2 separate regions of the Homo sapiens genome follow, and region 2 is linked to region 1. Evidence: promoter capture Hi-C in 16 types of primary human blood cells and fetal thymus (Javierre and others, 2016). All regions are on one chromosome and are shown on one strand. The core of a region is centred on a gene start or on the middle of the fragment in contact, and the rest is flanking DNA. Distances in the headings are between cores, read along the strand shown.

What was found. The method cuts DNA at HindIII sites, captures the fragments that hold promoters and counts their contacts. A CHiCAGO score of 5 or more calls a contact.
Region 2: a fragment that was not itself captured here is called in contact with the fragment with the promoter of GJB7 in region 1 in 1 of 17 cell types (total B cells); the score reaches 6.2 in total B cells.

Annotation. Positions count from the first base shown.
Region 1 is chr6:87,327,445-87,331,608 of GRCh38, reverse strand. GJB7 (gap junction protein beta 7) reads left to right here and starts at 2,331. Exons shown (of 3, transcript NM_198568.3): 1 at 2,331-2,471. SMIM8 (small integral membrane protein 8) reads right to left here. Exons shown (of 4, transcript NM_001042493.3): 2 at 897-917. RefSeq lists enhancers at 1,902-2,586, 2,587-3,273. The HindIII fragment of the contact is 5,500 bases long and covers 1-3,126 here.
Region 2 is chr6:88,893,149-88,897,312 of GRCh38, reverse strand. All of the region lies in intron 6 of RNGTT (RNA guanylyltransferase and 5'-phosphatase), which reads left to right. Among named protein-coding and RNA genes, the nearest start is that of RNGTT, 68 kb to the left of the region's middle. The HindIII fragment of the contact is 1,581 bases long and covers 1,590-3,170 here.

The sequences.
Region 1 (4,164 bases), core at 1,082-3,581:
CAAAAACAAAATCTTTTCTACATACGAGAAAATTCTTCTGTATTTGTTCACATGCCAGCCCACAGAGCTGTACAAGTATGGCTGACGAATAAATTCAAGATGTGCCAGGAATAAATAAAACAGGTAGAATGCAAAACCTTAGTCATTTCTTCACACATGTATAAATTGTTTTGGGGAAAACAAATCTGTATTTTAACAAGTAAACTTTTAATCCTGAAGTTTAAGTTGACTAGCTGTTTTCAAGTACAAAACTAATACAAGTTTCAATTTTAAAAGCTGCAGAACTAATCATAAAGTCAAGGCATGGCAATAACTTACTCTGACATTACCACTCACCTAAGACAAAACCAGTTAATGTCCAGCACACTTCCATCAGAACTTTCTTAGTCTTCCCACTAGTTTCTCCACCTTCTTCTCTTACTTTTTGTTTCCACTGCAGCTGTCACTCATTTACTTACATATGATATTGACCAATCTCTAGTTATTATCACTTTGAGGATCTATTTATTTTTAAGCTGCATTTAAAAACCTCATTTACTGTGTTAAAACAGTAATGACATAAAACATACATACACATAGATTAGCAAGGATGCTGGGAACCTGGCATTACACTGCTCTTGGCTAAGTAATTTTGTGATTAATTTGTGTGCGGGCCTACCTGCAAAATAATTAATCAGGCACCCCTGGCTGTGCAATCTGCCCCACTCTTATTTCTTCTTCATTTTTCCATCACCCACTTCTTGTTCCCTTTTCCATGCATGATTAAGAAACTGTTATTTATCTTTTCTTAAAAAAAAAAATAGAGGAGAGTAGAACATTTCACAGGTGCCTGTAAAAAAGGTCTAAACTAAGGGGTATTTGCTTCATTTGTTTCTCTCTGGTAAAATGTTCTTTACCTTTTTCTTCTGTCCATCCTCCTGTGACGGAAGCGTGCAATGGAAAAAGGAAGAAGCAAAGATAAAGGACTGCCCGTTTACCCAACTCCATGAGAGTCATTTACATCTCAAAGTGTAAGAATAGTAAGCCCCTGAAATTAATAACACACAATGTGAGAGGCTGTACAGATGGTCCTACACCGAGAGTCAGGACTAGTCATTTTTGAATGATTTTCCCTTCTTTAGCAAAATTCTTGCTCAGGGAGTTATTCCAGAATACTTGACTACCTATTAATATATTGTACATGCAAATTAGACTAAGATATAAAGAATATAAGAATTACTTTGAGGGAAACACTTAATCTTCAAACATACATTTTAGAAATAAGCACCTCAATAGAAGACAAAACAAAATGACCAGAATCATAAAATGTTAACGAGCAGGAACCTTATTAATAATGAAAGCATTTCCTTTAAAAGACAGAGAATTATAAAATGGGCAAAATATTTTAATGAAAGTATAATACACTTTTTTATAGTTTCACATGCCACATTATCTTAATACTTAAGAAACTAACTTGAACTTTGGGGCAGAAAACCTTAAAAATAATTTAAATTAGTTTAAACAAGTTTGGGATAGAATCAGAGGACTTCATGGCTTGAGGGGAAACATAGCATAACCTCAGATTCTCACTTTGCTACTTATAAGCTGTGTGTCTTTAAGTGACAACTCTGATTCTCAGTTTCTACCTTTATAAAAGGAGCAATACTATCTATTGCATAGATAGGTACTAAATGTGTGCATTAATTAAGATGACACATTTTAAAAGATGCAGATGTTCAATGAATGGTAGCTACTTTCATACTCACCATTTAGTCTAACTCCCCCTTCTAAACCCCTTTCTGAGAAACCCAGACCCAAGGAGATGTCCTTACCAGGAGGGTGCGATCACCTAGGTCTCCCAATTACCAGCCCACCAATATTTCACCACCTCACCCCATCTTACTCTTGAATTGATAAAAGGCCTTTGCATGTATATTACAATATTTAAGAAAAAAAATTATAATCACTTAAGTTTTAAAAATTGATTATATATATGTTGTTTTTAAGGTAAAACATACTTTCTAAAAAAGTATCTTTCCTGCCGGGCAGGGTGGCTCACGCCTGCAATCCCAGCACTCTGGGAGGCCGAAGCGGGTAGATTGCTTGAGGTCAGGATCACTTGAGGTCAGGAGTTTGAAACTAGCGTAGCCAATATGGTGAAACCCCGTCTCTACTAAAAATACAAAAATTAGCTGGGTGTGGTGGTGCGGGCCTGTAATCCCAGCTCCTCGGGAGGCTGAGGCAGAATAATCGCCTGAACCCAGGAGGTGAAGGTTGCAGTGAGCCGAGATCGTGCCACTGCACTCCAGCCTGGGCGACAGAGCGAAACTCTGTCTAAAAACAAAACAAGAGGGGAGGAGCCAAGATGGCTGAATAGGAACAGCTCCGGTCTACAGCTCCCAGAGTGAGCAACGCAGAAGATGGGTGATTTCTGCATTTCCAGTCGAGGTACCGGGTTCATCTCACTAGGGAGTGCCAGACACTGGGCGCAGGTAAGTGGGTGCGCGCACCATGTGAGAGCCGAAGCAGGGCGAGGCATTGCCTCACTCGGGAAGTGCAAGGGGTCAGGGAGTTCCCTCTCCTAGTCAAAGAAAAGGGTGACAGACGGCACATGGAAAATCGGGTCACTCCCACCCGAATCCTGCGCTTTTCCGACGGGCTTAAAAAATGGCGCACCACGAGATTATATCCCGCACGTGGTTCGGAGGGTCCTACGCCCACGGAGTCTGGCTGATTGCTAGCACAGCAGTCTGAGATCAAACTGCAAGGCGGCAGTGAGGCTGGGGGAGGGGCGCCCGCCATTGCCCAGGCTTGCTTAGGTAAACAAAGCAGCTGGGAAGCTCGAACTGGGTGGAGCCCACCACAGCTCAAGGAGGCCTGCCTGCCTCTGTAGGCTCCACCTCTGGGGGCAGGGCACAGACAAACAAAAAGACAGCAGTATCCTCTGCAGACTTAAATGTCCCTGTCTGACAGCTTTGAAGAGAGCAGTGGTTCTCCCAGCACGCAGCTGGAGATCTGAGAACAGGCAGACTGCCTCCTCAAGTGGGTCCCTGACCCCTGACCCCCGAGCAGCCTAACTGGGAGGCAGCCTCCAGCAGGGGCAGACTGATACCTCACACGGCCGGGTACTCCAACAGACCTGAAGCTTACGGTCCTGTCTGTTAGAAGGAAAACTAACAAACAGAAAGGACATCCACACCAAAAACCCATCTGTACATCACCATCAACAAAGACAAAAAGTAGATAAAACCACAAAGATGGGGAAAAAACAGAGCAGAAAAACTGGAAACTCTAAAAAGCAGAGTGCCTCTCCTCCTCCAAAGGAACGCAGTTCCTCACGAGCAACGGAACAAAGTTGGACGGAGAATGACTTTGACGAGCTGAGAGAAGGCTTCACACGATCAAATTATTCCGAGCTACGGGAGGAAATTCAAACCAAAGGCAAAGAAGTTGAAAACTTTGAAAAAAGTTTAGAAGAATGTATAACTAGAATAACCAATACTGAGAAGTGCTTAAAGGAGCTGATGGAGCTGAAAACCAAGGCTCAAGAACTACGTGAAGAATGCAGAAGCCTCAGGAGCTGATGCGATCAACTGGAAGAAAGGGTATCAGTGATGGAAGATGAAGTGAATGAAATGAAGCGAGAAGGGAAGTTTAGAGAAAAAAGAATAAAAAGAAACAAGCAAAGCCTCCAAGAAATATGGGACTATGTGAAAAGACCAAATCTACGTCTGATTGGTGTACCTGAAAGTGACGGGGAGAATGGAACCAAGTTGGAAAACACTCTGCAGGATATTATCCAGGAGAACTTCCCCAATCTAGCAAGGCAGGCCAACATTCAGATTCAGGAAATACAGAGAACGCCACAAAGATACTCCTCGAGAAGAGCAACTCCAAGACACATAATTGTCAGATTCACCAAAGTTGAAATGAAGGAAAAAATGTTAAGGGCAGCCAGAGAGAAAGGTCGGGTTACCCACAAAGGGAAGCCCATCAGACTAACAGCGGATCTCTTGGCAGAAACTCTACAAGCCAGAAGAGAGTGGGGGCCAATATTCAACATTCTTAAAGAAAAGAATTTTCAACCCAGAATTTCATATCCAGCCAAACTAAGCTTCATAAGTGAAGGAGAAATAAAATACTTTACAGACAAGCAAATGCTGAGAGATTTTGTGACCAGCAGGC
Region 2 (4,164 bases), core at 1,131-3,630, 1.6 Mb before region 1:
GCCTATGTATGAGAGTGGAAAAGACTAACGGTAGGTTGACTCAAGGCTGGAGAAATTCAGTTTGGGTGTGATGAAGAACAAGAGGGTAAGGGGCACTGAGGCTGTCAGAGGAAAAATAATTGAAGTAATCAGCCATAGGTTCTAGGCTGAATAGGAAGTAAGGTCAGGATGAGGGTGCTGTTAGAATATGTAAAGGAGAAATGAAGGGACTGTTAGTCTTGGTGAAATTGAAAAGTGAGCAGAGTGACAGTAAAAGAGTTTATAGTGACATGTTAGTTTTAGAATGCTGTCGGCACTCAATCAATGTGAGTTGTATTGAATCAAAAGGTAGAGTGGTTTGAAATGATTGTGGTAGTGCCATGGAGCAGGATGTTCCAGTTGGACAAAGATGAGGGTCATTGTAAATGAGATGACCTATTGTAAAGGTTGTACAACAGGTCGAGTTATTTCAATGGATGTTGATGTTACCAATATAATGATAGAGGTTAGAATAGTCAGAAAGACCAACTTTTTTTGATGAATGTAGGGCAATATCTTTCAATACACAAAGGATAGAGGGTTTTACTAGTTTAGACTCTCTGACTGTAAACAGCAGAAAATAACTTAAACTGGCTTAAATATTAAGGGTACTTATTCATGAGTAAATTAGTGGAACTCAGGCACTGGAATGTGCCAGATTTTAGGACAATATTGGAACCTGGACCTGGAAAGTTACTTAGAACCTAGTTTCTGCTCTTTCTTCTTAATATCGCATCTCTGCTTTTGTCCCTTTATTTGTATCAGTCTTCTCATTGTCTCTGTCTCTCAAGATTGGCTCTTCCTGATTCCTGATTTTCCTGGGAGATCATTAACTGTCTCGAAGCTTCTAAGGTAACCTGTTATAATTTTAGCCACATGCAGAGACTAACTGCTTGTCTCGGAATCCCAATTCCAAATTACCAGGAGAGAGAATCTGATGGCTTCAGATTGAGTTAGGGGTTATTCGTGCTCCCATCAACTTTGGCTGGAGTAGGATGTTATCTTGTAATGTCATGTAAAATAGCTATTAGGCCCCATCTTTGTGGGTTGGGAGGGCAGCCCTTAAAGAGAGTTGTTATGCCAGTACCCACAGTGGATTTCTGCTTTACTACAGCTGAGTGGTATAGCTGAAAGGAATTAGTGTAAACACAAGAGGGCCTTTTGAAAGAGATTAGGAAAGCAGTGAGGAGGTATAGAACAGTAGTTTAAATTACTGCCATGGATCTTGGGCTGTGGGAGAATAAGTAGCTTTAAGATGACATGATCTGTCTAGGGAGAGCTAGCTTTTAGTTGAGACACGGTACGGGGTGTTCAAGAAAATGGTTGAGGTGATGGGGAAGGTTATTTATGAAAAAGGAATTCCAGGGTTTACATTGGAACTCTTTGGGAAGGTGATTATTGATAAGATGAACCAAGGAAAAGGGGCTTTAAAGCAGTGAGTACAAAACCATCAGAGAAGAAAGGGGACTGAAGAGTTGAATTGTGGATGGTGTCAACTGTAGTTGACCTATGGTTGACAGGGATGAGAAGCACAGATATAATTACTTATTACATTTATGGTTGGAAAAGCTTTCATTTTTCTTTTATTTCCATCTGAGGTTGAAGATAGTTAACAGAGGCAATCTAAGAGTGACTATTTTATAGATCACATCTCTTGACATAATGAAGGTATTTTTGGTTTGAGACTTTATTTTTGTTAAGTACAGTCTTTTCTGATTCTTATATTGATATAACTATGTATTCAAGTAATGGACTCCTTGTAATTAATTCTGATAGTTCTCTTTGGGTTTATAACTGTGGCACATGTCCGATGCTGTGCTTGGCCCCTTACATTCCTAAGACACCTTCTTTATTCATCTTTTGAGTACATGTGTTACTAAGTTGGAAGAGTATGACTTACAGGTATGTTGCTTACTCCTTGAACTGATGTCTGAGATCATTTCTTTGAATACAACGATGAATGTATTTTCCTCATTATGAAAATATGCCTGTTGTACGTATATTCTTGTATACATTTTCTCTTTACACACACACACACACACACACACACACACACACACACACAGAGCTCTCTCTCACATAAATTGCCTCCATCTTCTGTAATATTTACTAAATTTCTGTCTAAAGGATCACTCATTTCTGTTGTGATAGCCATGCAGATTTTAATTTTAAGGCTAGCTGACTCTGTTTATGAAATATATTTCTATAAACATACTTTTTTAACTTTCGATTTTTCTTTATTTTCACAAACAGAAATAATTTGTTGAAAAGTGAAAATAAATGTCAGTGACTTTAATACTCAATTATAGTATGTTCACAATAATTCCAGACCGAAGACATTGCTATTTAAAATTTATTTTTAAAATTAATTATTTATTTTTTATTTTTATAAATAGAGATGGGTCTCACTGTGTTGCCCAAGCTGGTCTTGAACTCTGGGGCTCAAGCAGTCCTCCTGACTCAGCCTCCCAAAGTGCCGGGATTACTGGCATGAGTCACCACATCTGGCCACTGTTTAGAATTAGTGATCTTTCCATTATAAAGATTTAACTATTTTATGCTGAAGTGGCCATATTTTCAAGGAGTGAAACCATCTCATACATAACAATGAAGGTAGTCAGCTGTAGACTTGGAATGAGATCACATATGGGGATGATATCCTTCTAGTTAGCCTAGTACTGCTGTACTGGTCTGTGTGTACATGCGGTCCTTCAACTCAGGCCTTGCAAGGCATGCCGGCTGTGCCATGTTTGTAAATGGGGCAGAGGAAGCTACAACAATGGAAAACTAAGCTGTTTATGTTAGGTACAGCTATTAAAACAAGGTAGGGATGAGGCTAGGCCCTTAACTTCCCTAAGGCATACTTTTCTAGCTACCTTCTGCCCTGTGTCTGGCACCTACATCCTGGATGATTGTTCTCTTTTATCCATTGTGGATTTTTAAAATAAAATAAATATGAAAAGCATCTTGATCTCTTGTTTGTGAGAGGTGATGCCCTGAGATTTAGCTTCAGGAATATGTCATGGCTCATGCTTCCCATATTTCCCAGGGAGGGAAATACAGGATTTTCTAACACTGGTTAAAAATGCAAATTCAAGATTTGGAAGGGCTGATATAATGAAATAATGAGCAGTATCAGCACGTGCAAAGCTTGTTTAAAAGATTTTATTTTCTCCCCTCTTAGACCTTTTGCACATTTAGAATCTTGAAACAGTTTCTAGATCTCTAACATGAAAATGAAGATGGGTATTTTCAGGTTGCTTTCAGCTCTAGGTAGAAATAACCAGAATTGGCTTACATTAAAGAAACTGCATCTAGAAATAAATAAAAAAATTAGTGGTCTTTCTTGGAGTTATATAATTTTGAATAATATAAAAATGGTATTTTGTCAGAACTATTGTAGTAACATTAAATAGCAAATTATGTTAGCCTAAAGTTACCAAGGATGATTTGTGTATGAAGTGTATCATACTTTTTTTTATTGGACTTCTACCTTTCTTTTTACTTATTTGTTGTGGAAGAAAATAGAGGAAGTTAAAAAAGAAGTTGATGCATGGTAGGAAAGATTAAGGAAGAAGAACAATAAATGGATGACAGACATTTACTAGGTGATTGGGGTTAACTTTTATAACCAGACTCAGTAGTTGTTAGATCTGTACTGATGCTCAGTATTTATTGGCTCTGTTAAATTAAAAATATTCAGCTTTTTCAACCCCATAGAAATGTTATTAAAATATTTCTGTGGTAATATTGTGGGAAAGTGCTTGGTTGAATGTGATCATATTTTCTATGTGTTAGTCCTTTTTATTATATGTTAAAAATATAAATAGTGTTTGTGTTTTTAGTAGTAACTTAGGTTAATTTGGCCTTTGCTTTTATTTTGCCCATTTCAGAAGTTAATGTAAATTTCTTAACTTTGCATAGGAAATCCACGTTGATAAATGAAGCTAGAGACTTTCTTTGTGTAAAACTTAAAAAGAACATCTCATGCTGTTAATACCATCAGAATTAGGATGCTTAATATTGAACTCTCTAAAAAGAAGTGTTCTTTTTTAATTAGCATAAGAAACAATTTTTTAAGGATATTGAAATTATCTGAGCACTCAATAAGTAAATATGTTACAAACCTCATCTATCTGGTTGAGC